Regions from separate parts of the Homo sapiens genome. Here region 2 is linked to region 1. Evidence: promoter capture Hi-C in 16 types of primary human blood cells and fetal thymus (Javierre and others, 2016). All regions are on one chromosome and are shown on one strand. The core of a region is centred on a gene start or on the middle of the fragment in contact, and the rest is flanking DNA. Distances in the headings are between cores, read along the strand shown.

Evidence for each region. Contacts are between HindIII fragments. The CHiCAGO score rates a contact against its expected background, and 5 or more counts as called.
Region 2: a fragment that was not itself captured here is called in contact with the fragment with the promoter of RAD51AP1 in region 1 in 1 of 17 cell types (M2 macrophages); the score reaches 5.0 in M2 macrophages.

Annotation. Positions count from the first base shown.
Region 1 is chr12:4,537,459-4,540,254 of GRCh38, reverse strand. It overlaps RAD51AP1 (RAD51 associated protein 1), which reads right to left and starts at 1,365. Exons shown (of 9, transcript NM_006479.5): 1 at 1,299-1,365. The coding sequence starts at 1,315. It overlaps FERRY3 (FERRY endosomal RAB5 effector complex subunit 3), which reads left to right and starts at 1,786. Exons shown (of 14, transcript NM_020374.4): 1 at 1,786-1,846. RefSeq lists enhancers at 933-1,541, 1,542-2,151 and a silencer at 1,757-1,806. The HindIII fragment of the contact is 5,379 bases long and covers 1-2,796 here.
Region 2 is chr12:4,608,557-4,611,352 of GRCh38, reverse strand. It overlaps DYRK4 (dual specificity tyrosine phosphorylation regulated kinase 4), which reads right to left. Exons shown (of 15, transcript NM_001394779.1): 13 at 1,069-1,198. Among named protein-coding and RNA genes, the nearest start is that of AKAP3, 39 kb to the left of the region's middle. The HindIII fragment of the contact is 4,491 bases long and covers 1-2,796 here.

The DNA of each region.
Region 1 (2,796 bases), core at 116-2,615:
ATGTTCGAAACAGAAATCTTGATCCCTCACACCTCCTAACCTTCCTTTTCCTAGTCTTCCCTATCTTAATACAAAGATCATCCATCCTGTAGCTCAGACCAAAACTATTGTGGAGTCATCTCTGATTCTTTCTTTCCCTTACCTGTACATCTACTTCATCAGCAAGTTCTGTCCACAGTGCCTCCGAAATACATCCCAAATTCATCTGTTCCATTCCATGCCCACTAATAATACCCTATCCCAAACCGCTCTCCAATGATATAATACCTGATTTTCCTGCTCCCGTTCTGGTCACCCTATCCATCATTTATTCTCCACCAACAGCCAGTGACCTTTATAAAAGCAAACTTAGATTCCTCTCCCCTACTTAAAACCCTCCACTGACTTCCCATTGACTTAAAATAAAACCTAAACTCCTTTCTAAGACTTACAAGACCCTATCTGTTCTGGCACCTGCCTATTTCTCTGGCCTAATCCCCCTACGATTCTCCCCACTGCTTGTTAATCCTATAGCATTAGACTGTCCCTAAAATATGGTCAAGTATGGGGCCTTGGCTCCTATTCCCTCTACCCTGATTCATGACTCAGTGCATGCATTATCGCCTCAGAGTCACATATTAACTACTATATTTAAAGTAGTGCTTTCCTCTTTCGCACTCTCATATTTCGAGGCTTATTTTCGGCCCCCTAACCTCACCTCCCACTGGAATGTAACCTCCAGCACCTCGTACACTAAAGAAGTGAATATATTCAATAACTTTATTAAATGAATGGCTAACTATAGGCTTCCATGGCACTCAACTGTGTAAATAGAAGAATCGTTTCTAATACCACGATGGAAAGCACAGAGGATCTTGAGTGAGATGACTTAGGTTTGAGTATTGCCCTGCCACTTACTGGGCTGTATGACTCAGATAACTTACCCTCTATACGTAGAAATGTTAAATCAATACAACAGGAATGCTTACTCTTTCTATATCAAATAACTACAGTGATAAACAAATAAAATAACACATAATTGGGCGCTCGGTGAAATGTAAAGCGCTGTTCAAACGCTAACAAGGTCTTGGTAAAAGAAACGGCGACGGTTGTGAAGGGAGGCAAAGAGAAGGAAAAAGCTACGATGCTAGGATACTTCTGAGCAACGGGTGGCTCTCACTGGAGACTGGGTTCTTGATAACCGTCCATCCTAACCCCACCATCGCTGCCCTCCGGTCTTACTCGATCCTTTCCCCTTAGTCTCATGTCTTTTCCCTTAGTTTTCCTCCCACCCCCGACGAATGTCAGGAACTACCCACCTCACAGGCCGCACCATGGTCCCTTTCAAGGCTTGGTATTTACAGTTCTCAAATTCTTGTTGGCTTCAGCGGCGGTTTCAATTCCCGCCCAAAACCAGACTTCGGAGCCCTCCGCCCCCTGTTACCAGTCGTCCAATCATCACCAGCCATGCTTGCGGCGGCGCACGCGCTGTGGGGAAAGCGAATTTGCTCCCGCCCTCCCCAAGGCACCGCTTTTCCGTATCCGGTCCACCAGAGCCGAGTTTGTGCTTTGTCCCTGCACTTTCGTCACAACGGCGGATTTGCCCTGTCTCTGAAATACAGAATAACAATAGAAATACACCTTATTGCACCTTTCAAATTGTTAAATTGAAACAGGTTGGGACATAGGGGCACTTGGACTGAGAAATTTTCTACAAGATGCCAGGAAATAGAAAAGGATGTGGCGAATCTACGTTCGCGGATCCGCGGTGTGGAAAAAGTATGTCGGCAAGTCAGCTGGTTTCCCAGTGCAGGACGCGCTGACAGCTCGAGTGAGCGGACTGCCCAGGACTTCGGAACTAGACGAGGTGAGCCCAGAACCGAGTGAGGATGCCCTTTCAGACTGACAACCGTTACAGAGGGATTAGTCCCCTCACCCGGCTGAAGTTTCTCAGCTCGACCGTCTGTCTTCCTTTTCCCTGATTAATGTGAGCCTCAGAGCCTCCGCTCTGTTGGCTGTGTGTGTTCGGTCCAGACCTTCCATCCCATTTTCTTATGGGAAACCTTCCTGGATTTCACGGTTGCTAAAACTGAACCCAGGCTTCAGGATAGACCATTAGTCTAAAAAAAGAGCGAGAGGAGAAAGAACTAAAGTTATCAGTTTCTTGAAACACAAGTCTAAATGTTGAACCAGAGCTTTTGTGTCTGCCTTCTCTTTTTTTTTTCAACATTCCTGATTCATTCATATTTTTGCATTTATCAGTGGTTGATTCTTTTTTATTGCTGTGTAGTATTTATCTCATAAAATAAACAAGTTTACTATTCTCCTACTAATACGCATTTTGGTTGTTTCCAGTTTGGGGTATTATAAATAAAACTTATATGAGCATTCTTCTGGGTGTACTTTAGCGAACATATGCGTGTGTGTGTATTTGGATATATACTTAGGAATGAAATTTCTACATCATAGAATATACCTTTATGTAGTTTTGGTAGTTTTCTAACATTATAAAAATTTGTATTGCTTTACGTTTAATTTTAATTCTTTCTGAGTAAAACAAATACCCTATCTCTTTGCATTATGGTGAAATAGACGAAGATTTTTGTGTATAGCCTACATACAGATTTGAAAATATAGTCTGGATAATTCAACTTAGCCCCGCCCCACGACATGTACAAAAGTCCTTTGAGTTTTTTTTATATTTCAGGTGATATCTTTTTAAATAACCGTATGAATAATTTTTTGTTCTTTATTTTTCCAGTGAGCACCATAAAATAAAAACGCCATACAATCCAACAATTATTTATTAGTTCTTGC
Region 2 (2,796 bases), core at 93-2,592, 71 kb before region 1:
CCCATCTGTCTCAGCAGTTGGTTTCTGTCATTTGTTAAGGTAGGGGTAAAGATGGGGTACAGGATCCTTCCCTACCTTGATTATTCTGATGAGTGAATAGCATGACCCCCTACGATGGGAATACTTTCATCATTACCTCATGGTTCACCCTCTGAGCTAGTACTGAAATTCCAGAGAGCACAGATGCCAGAAGAGTATTTTGATAACATCACTCCATCCAACTGGAAGAATAAGAGACTGTAATGATATGGTCTTCTAAAAATACTAAATTATAGGACTGATAGAACTGGAAGGGAGCTTAGGAATACCGTATTTTATAGGAAAGAACACTGAGGCCCAGAAAAAAGTGATGACTTGCCAAGTATCACATGGATAATCTACTTGCCACTCTGTGGAGATAGATTTACCTCTTTAATAGTCGTAAAATAATAAGAATAGCTAACGTTTTCTAAACACCTTTTAAACTGGGTGCTGTGCTGGGTACTACGACTTAAGTACAGATCTAATTTCTAAGATTCAAAATATGCATATAGATTATAAAAAGTTGTACATAATAAATGGTTTACAGCTCACCTTCCCCCTAATTCCCTAATATAAGACGATTTGGGTACTAAATCCTAGGGGGAGGGGGACAGGCCCTGAAACCAGTTTACACTGGATGTGTATGCAAATCATTACAACAAGCAGTCAGGGGGTTGGCTTCAGCTCACAGAGCAGAAGACATTTAGGACTGGCAAACAATCTCACTGCCAGGCAGTTTGAGGCCAGGAAGATGACAAACTCTACCATACGCTGTGTATTCCAGGGCAGGTCACTTAATCTCTTTGAACCCCAACCTCCATACGTGCAAAACAGAGCAAATCATCTGCCCTGACAACCACACAGTAGGGAGAGATGTCTGATGAAACAACAGATGTGGAAGCAATTTGTAGACTTTAAAGCTCTATTGTTAGCATTTCTTGTTACTTTTATAACTATCTCCCAGCCTTAGTCTTTCACCAGCAAACGTGTGTCAAAGTACAGCATTTAAGAGGAAACCCAGAAGCAGAGATGTCCCAACAAACTCACACCAAACACCTTCTGAGAAAGTCCAGGAAGCTGGTGTCATAGGTTTTCAGCACCATCGTGAGGTCCTTGGAATCTGGGTATCTTTTTTTCCCCCTGTTGTTGGTTATATTTTTAGGAAAACCTTTGGAATCTGTAGAGATAGAACATTCTGTATTTAGTTTCAGGTGTAAATCTTTAGTGGTCACATGATGCTGCTGCTTAGAGTGGCCTCTGTAGCTCTTTTGCTCTCTGTCTTACACACTCGCCTCATGCCACACCCCAATAAACACACACACACACACTCAGTTTGAAATAACCATGTGTAGATTACCCAAGGAATGCAATTTACTTTAAAAATTGATTTTTTCCTACTATTCAGTATGTTCTGAACTTCCTTCCCACTGCCTCCTCTCCAAATCAAAGAAATAATTTAAATGGCTTAACACCAACCAAGATAAAATAATAATGCTAATGATAATAATGACAATGGTAAAGTAAATGTTAAGTGACAAGGTCCTGTGAAATTGTACAAATATCCATTTCCTTTTGGATCATGGCCTTAGCCCTCCCACTTCATCCTACATTGTCCTTTTTACCAATGACCAAAGAAGAATCAAGCTCACAGTCTTATCAATAACAAAGCTCCTAAAGTCATGATCATGTAATTGTTTTTTCTCACTCTGGCCCTCATCAGTCATTCCCTCCATCCCCTTCTTACTACCTGAGCCACCTGGGCCACCTAAGTATAATATCTTACCAGCCTTGAGACAACACCATTTTGCTGCTAATTAGGGGTATTAACTAGGAGTCGCCCGGGGCAGAGGAGCAGTTGGCAGCCCAAACCTGGGAAAGGAACAGTCAAGAACTGAAGTGGACAACCGTGTTTCCCAAACTTATTTTGTCATAAGAATCACAAGGAGCCGTCATTAAAAACGTCGAATCCTGGGTCCTATCGCAATCTTCCCATAGCATAGCTTATAGAAGAGAATCACAGGAATTCGCTTTTTTGCCAAGTCCCCAAATGATTCTTACATTTGGATAGAGTTTGGAAAACACTGACGAAGATGCAGTTCTCAGCAACATTCCTTCTTTCACAGGAAGTGAAGACATGGATATTGCTGCCAAAACCCCATCACCATCCTAAAGCCTAGTGCTGATGGTAGAAATAAGGAACTCTATGAAGTAGACATGCCTATGTCTTTAGTACGTTCCTACGAAGGTGCTCTGTGTTCCCTTCCTGCTAGTCCCCACCTAGATGCTATCTCATGAGTTCAGAGTTACAGGCTCAAGATATGTCTTCCCACAGTGACTCTGCCTAATCCAAAAGGCTGAATTATTAAGTTGTGGGTAGAAAAAGTATATTTGGGATCCAAAGACCAGTTCGCGTGCTCCATGTGTAAATTATACTGGGGAGCCAGCCAGATCCTTTGCCTACCGCCAGATTGCTCGGTTAATGTGTGGTCACCATTCTATGGCAACCAGGACACTGCCCTGCTCAGAGGCAAGGTCTCCAAAGCTCCAGCCATGATTACCAGATGATGTTTAAAAGAATTAACCATTGGAATGAATGGCATGGAACCAACTAATCAGAATGGAAGACAGCCCTGGCACTGGAGTAGGATCATAGAGAACTTCTGCTTGCTTGGCCTTCAGCTTTTAGGTTTTTGGATCATGGAGAGTTTAAGGAGTCCTGGGAGAGGGCCAGGGAGCCTGCAGTTGTAGCAGGGCTCAGGGCTGTGGCTTTTTACC